Linked DNA regions of Homo sapiens: region 2 is linked to region 1. Evidence: promoter capture Hi-C in 16 types of primary human blood cells and fetal thymus (Javierre and others, 2016). All regions are on one chromosome and are shown on one strand. The core of a region is centred on a gene start or on the middle of the fragment in contact, and the rest is flanking DNA. Distances in the headings are between cores, read along the strand shown.

The links. The method cuts DNA at HindIII sites, captures the fragments that hold promoters and counts their contacts. A CHiCAGO score of 5 or more calls a contact.
Region 2: a contact is called between a fragment that was not itself captured here and the fragment with the promoter of SLC6A18 in region 1, in 3 of 17 cell types (naive CD4 T cells, total CD4 T cells and naive CD8 T cells). The highest score is 6.8, in naive CD4 T cells.

Annotation. Positions count from the first base shown.
Region 1 is chr5:1,223,098-1,227,281 of GRCh38, reverse strand. SLC6A18 (solute carrier family 6 member 18) reads right to left here and starts at 1,901. Exons shown (of 12, transcript NM_182632.3): 1 at 1,645-1,901. The coding sequence starts at 1,804. SLC6A19 (solute carrier family 6 member 19) reads right to left here. Exons shown (of 12, transcript NM_001003841.3): 12 at 2,171-4,184. RefSeq lists an enhancer at 965-1,507. The HindIII fragment of the contact is 4,471 bases long and covers 1-3,855 here.
Region 2 is chr5:1,419,195-1,423,378 of GRCh38, reverse strand. It overlaps SLC6A3 (solute carrier family 6 member 3), which reads left to right. Exons shown (of 15, transcript NM_001044.5): 5 at 1,365-1,503; 6 at 2,676-2,810. Among named protein-coding and RNA genes, the nearest start is that of SLC6A3, 24 kb to the left of the region's middle. RefSeq lists an enhancer at 184-709. The HindIII fragment of the contact is 7,423 bases long and covers 1-4,184 here.

The sequences.
Region 1 (4,184 bases), core at 652-3,151:
TTTGCCCCAGCGTGGAGCAGCTGAGTTTAAGGGAGGCTAGTGCCAGACACTTCCAGTACACTGCAGGCGCTTAGCAATGGTAACTGGGTTTCGGTGGGCAAGGCATCGGCGGGCAAGGCATCGGCGGGCAAGTCATCGGCGGGCAAGGCATCGACGGGCAAGGCGTCGGCGGGCAAGGCGTCGGCGGGCAAGGCGTCGGCGGGCAAGGGGTCGGCGGGCAAGGTGTCGGCGGGCAAGGCGTCGGCGGGCAAGGCGTTGGGCGCGTCGGCGGGCAAGGCATCGGTGGGCAAGGCATCGGTGGGCAAGGCGTCGGTGGGCAAGGCGTTGGGCAAGGCATCAGCAGGAAAGGCATCGGTGGGCAAGGCATTGGCGAACAAGGCGTTGGTGGGTAAAGCGTTGGCCGGCATTTCCAGCTCTGCGTGAAGCCTGCTGCCCCCACAACCTTGCATGCTCTGGTGACTCTTAGCAGATCGAGCCGCAGCACAGGCAGCGAGGGCCCCGGGAGCCAGGGACGCCTCTGCCCTTGGGCTTTGGTGCTTTCAGAAATGCCTTCAAAGGGACTCTCATGATGAGAAGATCCAAGGCCCAATGCACCCTCTCCAGCCCCAAAGCCCCAAAGAGACCCCAGTGCCCCGAGGGTGGCAGTGACGGGTGTTTCTTTTTGTTTTTTCCATTTGTGCGCATTTCCTGCATTTTCTGCCTGTTGAGAATCTTTTCTTAAGCAGGAGGAAAAACACTTTAAAGGAGTAACCTTATAACAAGGGATAGTTGTGCGGGGCTCTCAGGGAAGGAGCTGAGGGCCCGGGGAACAGGCTGACCAAGCAGCCCGGCCTGGCCTGAGGAGGACCCTGCGGCCTGGGAAGCCCCTGCCCGTGTTGCCTGGGGAAGACCTGGGTGTCCATGCGTGATGTTGTACGTCGGCTCCCTGAGAGCAGTGATTCATGCCTGTCCCTACATCCTGTGTCGCCACATGGAGAGCAGAGTGTGACCCCTGCATGAAGAGAAGCAGGCACAGGGTGAGGGGAGGCTCGAGGTGCGTGGGAGCCTATTTCAGTCACCAATGCACTTCTGGGGGTGGTGAGTCCAAGGTCACTAAAGTCACCCAGACAGTTCTGAACATCCTGGCACCCCCCACAGGGCTCTCCCAGAGAACCAAAGCCAGGGAGGCGAGGGGTGGGCCCCCAAATTCCTGCAAAGAACCTCGGAGAAGGGCACCTGAGCACATGTCTGGACACACCAAGGCTGTGGTGAGGAAACCCAGAGCGGATTGTGTGTTCTTTAAAGAACTGACGACATTCAGATGGAAGAGCGCTCACTGTTTGTAGGGTGTGTGTGTCGGGCAGGGCGGCCCATTCAACCTGACGCCTGGCAGGAAGCTGCCCTGAGGTCCCGGAAGACCATAGTGGACCCCGAGGGGACTGGATCCTCCGTGCTGTGGGCAGTGGTGAAGCTGCCCTGAGGTCCCAGAAGACTGCAGGTGGGCCCTGAGGGGACTGACTCTGCCGTGGGCAATGGTGCACCCTGGTTTCCAGGAGGAGTGACTCTGCCCAAGCACTGGGGATGCGTGGCAGGCGCCTGGCAGGTCAGGGTGGAGACGGCCTCCCCTGCTTAGGGGTCTGCCCCAGGACGCAGGTGGGTGCTTACCTCCTCCATAGGTCTGGCACAGGTATGGGAACCGCCAAATGTTCCCCAGTCCCACGGCAAACCCAGTGCAGCTCAGGAGGTACTGGGCCTTGTTGTCCCACTTGGGCCTCTCATCCCCGAGGTCGCAGGCGGCCGGGTCCGGTTCTGGGGCATGAGCCATGGTGACTGAGTGCCCCAGGCTTCAGGGCAAGGGTGGTGCCTCACTCCACACCCAGCACTAGAGAGCCGTCTCCAGCCTCTGCCGACGTTTGGAAACCACAAGCAGCCCCACTGCAGTTGTATTTATTCATTTCTTTAAAGGAAAACCAGTGGAGTGCCGTTAATGGGTAACTCAGGTCCAGGCCCTGGCTCTGACGCCAGGGTCCTTCCCTGGCACCCACGTCCTCTGCTCCTTCTCGCATGCTCTGTGTTCCAGGCAAACGCCGGGCCTGGCACCACCCCCAGCACCATGAGGACCGTTTGCAAGGACAGCCTCAAGTTTTTTTGTTGCAGACACCAGGATTCCCAAGACTGAGGCATATTTTAATCGTTTTAAATTTCTTATGTTTTATTTAACCATTTGATCTTGAGATACTTATAGATTGTCACTCTGTCACTGTCAGAAACAACTCAGATCAGATCGCATGCACCCGAAGCCCGGATTCCCGCAGGGATCCTCTCAGCTGCTCTTGGGAGGCCGGGGGCTGCCCTCACACCCACTGCTGCCCTCGGGCCGCTGGGCAGGACAGGGTGACAGGCACCCACCGTGCGTGGGGGCAGAGGGCTGAGTCCTCTCCTGTGCTGGGGGCACCCCTGTCCATGGGTGGAGGGTTGATGAGTTGACGCCGGGTGAGTTCAGCTCTAAGGAGCTCCCCACAGTGCTCCCTGGACTCTGGGGCTCCTCCTTGCAGATGCTCCCGCCACGGACAGGCCAAGGGCCCCCAGGCCCGCAATTGCCCCATTCCACTGGACACTGCACCCCTCAACCGTGTGGCCACAACTCCAAATCCATGAGTCCCAGGGCAGGGGCCCAGGTGGACACATTTTTGGAAGGTTCTTATTTGAGTGAGAGGAAGTGTGAGGGAAGAAGATGAGAAGAGCTGGTTGGTCCCCATTGTGAGGCCACAGGCCTGGGCCATGGCCTCTTCGGAGCAAGCCCCCAAAGCCAGACCCCCCAGGAGGAGGCAGGAGCTGGACCTGCCGTCCCCACCATCCCGTCTGAGGTCACTGGCTCACTCATCCCTCTACGTCTGGACAACAGTAACTTCTAGGGTGAGCATACTCAATAGAAGGGATTTATTTAGAAATGTACACTTTATGCCCATAAAGCCTGCATTTCTACCACATTTACAGAGACATTGAAACCTATGAAACAACGCATGAATCAGGAGATGTAGATGAGATGGGAGCTCCCGCCCAGGGTCCTATGGCAGGCACACCAGGGTACACCAATGGATGCCAGGGCACATCAGTGCACACCTGTGCATGCCAGGGTACACCAATGCACACCTGTGCACGCCTGGCAGGGCCTCCTGGGCAGATGCCACAGGGCAGCATATTAATGGGGCACTGATGGAAATTTTCTCGATCCAGGGCCAAAGAGCAGGAAAAGATGAGGTGAGACCCTGTTGAAGCCATCAGCAGGCGAGCCCCTCGGTGGCATCACAGCCGGGGGCAGAGGCTGTGATATGTCCCCCCACCTCTGCTGCTGTGGAGTCTTGCGCATCCCAGGGCCCAGTGACAGTCAGCAGGGTGAAAGGGGCTGGTAGGGGACTCAGTGTGTGCAGTCACTGCTGGATGGGGTGCTGGAAGGGACGATTGTGACCAGGTTTCTGTGGGTGGAACATCATACTGGCACACACCAGGCTTTCAGTCCTGCCTGTAGGAATTCTCAGAACATCAGTTTAATGTAAGCGTCCAGATTCTTCTATGGAAAGCAGAGGTGACCTGTCCGTAGGAACTCTCAGAACACCAGTTTAATGTAAGCATCCAGATTCTTCCATGCAAAGCGGAGGTGACCTGTCCGTAGGAACTCTCAGAACACCAGTTTAATGTAAGCATCCAGATTCTTCCGTGCAAAGCGGAGGTGACCTGTCCGTGGAAGCAGATGTCCCAAGTGCCGACTGCCTTTGGCTGCGATGGAATGTTGAACCCCAATGGGGGCCCATCCCGTGACGGGGGCAGGGCAGGCGCCAGGCTGGGCTTCACTGAGTGGTGCGGGAGCTGGAAGCTTCTGGGGGCTGCACGGTCCTCCAAGGTGCCCTGGACACACACAGTGCCCAAGGATGGCAGCCAGGGTTGAGTTACCCTGTAACCCATCTTTTCCAAAGGCTGGCTAAAAATTCACACAGCTCATGTCCTCTTAAGAAAATGCACAGAGTGGTATTTGCCTTGAATTATGCCAAGTTGAGTTTTATTTAACTGCTCATCTATTTGTGGTGGCAGGAGCAATGATTAAATGGCTGGCATTCATTAAGCCGGGAAGCGGCCAGAACGCAGAGACTCGGCAGCGGCCGACTGGAGGCAGGGCCCCGGTGGATGCGGCCAAGTTTTCTCAGAAT
Region 2 (4,184 bases), core at 532-3,031, 200 kb before region 1:
GGCAGCAGTGGGTACCCAGCAGCGTGGGCAGCACTGTGGGCAGCGGTGGGTACCCAGCACCATGGGCAGCACTGGGCAGCGGTGGGTACCCAGCACCGTGGGCAGCACTGTGGGCAGCAGTGGGTACCCAGCACCATGGGCAGCACCGTGGGCAGCGGTGGGTACCCAGCACCATGGGCAGCACTGGGCAGCAGTGGGTACCCAGCAGCGTGGGCAGCACTGTGGGCAGCGGTGGGCACCTAGCACCGTGGGCAGCACTGGGCAGCAGTGGGTACCCAGCAGCGTGGGCAGCACTGTGGGCAGTGGTGGGTACCCAGCACCTTGGGCAGTACTGTGGGCAGTGGTGGGTACCCAGCACCTTGGGCAGCACTGGGCAGCAGTGGGTACCCAGCAGCGTGGGCAGCACTGTGGGCAGCGGTGGGCACCCAGCAGCGTGGGCAGCACTGTGGGCAGCGGTGGGTACCCAGCACCATGGGCAGCACTGTGGGCAGCGGTGGGCACCCAGCACCATGGGCAGCACTGGGCAGCAGTGGGCACCCAGCAGCGTGGGCAGCACTGTGGGCAGCGGTGGGTACCCAGCACCGTGGGCAGCACTGTGGGCAGCGGTGGGCACCCAGCACCTTGGGCAGCACTGGGCAGCGGTGGGCACCCAGCACCGTGGGCAGCACTGTGGGCAGTGGTGGGCACCCAGCACCATGGGCAGCACTGGGCAGCGGTGGGTACCCAGCACCATGGGCAGCACTGGGCAGCGGTGGGCACCCAGCACCATGGGCAGCACTGGGCAGCGGTGGGTACCCAGCAGCGTGGGCAGCACTGTGGGCAGCGGTGGGCACCCAGCAGCGTGGGCAGCACTGTGGGCAGCGGTGGGCACCCAGCAGCGTGGGCAGCACTGTGGGCAGCGGTGGGCACCCAGCAGCGTGGGCAGCACTGTGGGCAGCGGTGGGTACCCAGCAGCGTGGGCAGCACCGTGGGCAGCGGTGGGCACCCAGCACCTTGGGCAGCACTGGGCAGTGGTGGGCACCCAGCATTGCTCAGCAACTTCCTTTTGGTTTCTGTGGCTCCTTTTCTTCAAAGACCCAAGGTGCCCTCCGCCTCCGCAGCTCCAGTGAGCAGGGGTGCCAAGGGCAGATGGTGAGGCAGGGCTTCCTGGGCCTCCCACGTGCTCCACGGGTTTCAAGGGCGGCCCTGACACCTCTGCCAGGGCCTGTGGGCCAGACCTCCCTGGAAGGCATCTCTTGTCCATCAGACTGGATGCTTTCTGCCCTGCTGAGATGGGGAGGGCAGGTCCCCGGACAAGCTCAGCCGTCCAGTTCCAGGTGGGTTGACAGCCACCCACAGAGTCCCCCGCTGACTCCCCTCTGCAGACGTGGCGTGCTGCACCTCCACCAGAGCCATGGCATCGACGACCTGGGGCCTCCGCGGTGGCAGCTCACAGCCTGCCTGGTGCTGGTCATCGTGCTGCTCTACTTCAGCCTCTGGAAGGGCGTGAAGACCTCAGGGAAGGTGAGGCTCGGGGGTCACCAATTGGGCCTGTAGACATGGGGCCACCAAGTGGACATGTGGCCGTGGCTGGACAGGAGGTGCACGTGTGGCCTCAGTTGGGTTTTGTGCTACCAATGTGGCCATGGCCAGGTTGGGGTGGACACATGGCCATGGTTGAGTTTGGGAGACTCATATGGCCATAATCAGGTTGGGAGTGTACACGTGGCCATGATTGAGGGTACACCTGTGGCTGTGCCGGGTTGGCTTGGGTAGACGCGCGGCCATGGGTGGGTGGGGGGACACGTGGCCGTGGCTGGGCTGGGCGGACACACGGCACAGTTGGGTTTTGGGTCCACGTGTGGCTGTGTTTGGGGAAGGGCCTCAGGAGGGAAGCACTCACAGCAGTGTTTCTGGCAGGAAGGCACACACAAGATGATTTTTTTGTTGATAAAAATACTTTGGGAGGCTGAGACGGGCAGATCACCTGAGGTCAGGGGTTCAAGAACAGCCTGGCCAACATGATGAAACCCCATCTCTACTAAAAATACGAAATTAGCCAGGCACGGTGGCACGTGCCTATAATCCCAGCTACGTGGGAGGCTGAGGCAGGAGAATTGCTTGAACCCAGGAGGCGGAGGTTGCAGTGAGCCAAGATCATGCCACTGCACTCCAGCCTGGGCAAAAAGAGCAAAACTCCATCTCAAAAAAAAAAAAAAAACTTTGGTTGTTATATGGGCCAAAACCAGTTTTGACCAAGATACGACTCCTCCCTTGGAAAAGTGCGTGTAGTATGGCACCAGCCACGGGAGCCTCCCGCAGGGACACAGCCCAGAGCAGCCCTTCATCGTGCCACAGTGCCGTTCACCAGTGTGAATCCACTCACGTCCCACGCATCAGAAAACCCCCATCAGCCACTCCCAGCTACTCTGGCGGACCGAATGCAGAAAAGGAATGTGCTTTCCCTGCCAAGTTGTTCTTCCCTTTCCATCCCTGGGGAGGGTGTGCAGGACAGAAAGTGTCTGACCTTCTCACTCCAAGGAGCATTTGCTGAGCTGGCGTCCCAGGAAATGTTTGGGAATTGGGCCTCCCAATCAGAGGACAAGCCGTCAGGGCAACCCGGTGCCCTTGTGCCAGTGTCTGCTCCCACCAAGGGCCCTGCCTGTGCAGCCTGGTGACACTGTCCTCTCCTGCAGGTGGTATGGATCACAGCCACCATGCCATACGTGGTCCTCACTGCCCTGCTCCTGCGTGGGGTCACCCTCCCTGGAGCCATAGACGGCATCAGAGCATACCTGAGCGTTGACTTCTACCGGCTCTGCGAGGCGTCTGTGAGTACAGTCTGCTCACTGCTTCACAGTCCACAGGGGCTCTGGCATTCCCAGGTTTCCATATGCATTGCCTGCCAGGGCTGAGAGGTGTCAGAGTTGCAGACACCAGGGTTCTTTCCTCGGGAAGCCAAATCCCAAGTACCTGTGATACAGCACGAGTCATCTAAATCAAATTACATCAGAAACTCCATCTAGACTCAGGCTGCAGCTTTGGTCAGCAAAAGAAGACATAATTCAGGGTTAAAATATTTGGAGAAAGCCTCCCGGAGAGAGGAGACTCAGCTGGGCCATGGGGGATGGGACCCTTGTCCAGAAAGGGAGGAGAAAGGGCTGCACCCTTCCTGGCAAACAGGCCCAGAAACAGAAGCAGCTGTTGGCGGAAGGCTGGCATGACAAAAATGGCAGCTCCCTTGGGGCATCGTTGGAAATCAGGTGGACTAAGTGGGGGAGGTGGCAGGCCCCAAAGCCGCCCAGGGGCATCCATGTTGCTGTGGGAGGACAATGCAGCAAGAGGGGAAGGGCCATCTCAGCTGGGGTATGAGGCAGGAGGCCGTTGAGAGGTGCTGCCCTGTGTGGGTGGGCCGGTGGAGCCAGGTCTGGGGGTCATGAGGCAAGTGTAAACCCAAGGCAGAAGTGGGAAGGAAGGGGAGAAGGGATGGGCGGGCATGGCTGCAAGCCTCCCAGGAAGCCCCAGGGAGGCAGCAGCTGACAGGTGCAGTGAGAGAGGGCACCTGGACATGGCACCTATGAGGCTGCAAAGCAGTTGGGTGGGGGTGGGGGTGGAAGTGTGCCTGCAGCACTGAAGGGGAAGCCCTGTGGAGACAGGAGCCATGGGTGCAGCAGGCGTGTGGCCCACGGGAGCCAAGGAAGAGAGAGGAGGACAACCAGGGCAGCAAAATCAGCTGTGGCCGGGGGCCCACAAGTGCAGAGCTGGAGCCAGACAAACCATGAAGTCAGCAGGGCGTCTGGACCCCAGAAAGGCCAAAATGAAGCCAAGGGGTGTGTTTGCAGGACCATGGCATGTTACAGAATCAAAGAAAAATACCACAAGGACAACGTAGAGCCTAGTGCTCCAGCTAGGAAGAATAGGCAGCCCCAGGAGGAGGCAAAACAAACACCAGTGCATGTGAAAAGATGCTCACTGGAGAACAAATTACAAAGATGAGATGTCAGAAATTAGGTGGAGACAGTGAATAGATTGGATGGATGGATGGATGGATGGATGGATGGATGGATGGATGGATGAATGCTAGGTAAGTAGGTGGATAGGATGGATGGATGATAGGTGGGTAGATAGAATGGATAGATAGGATGGGTGGATGGAAGGCTGGCTGGCTGGATGTATGGATAATGGATGGGTGGATGGAGGAATGG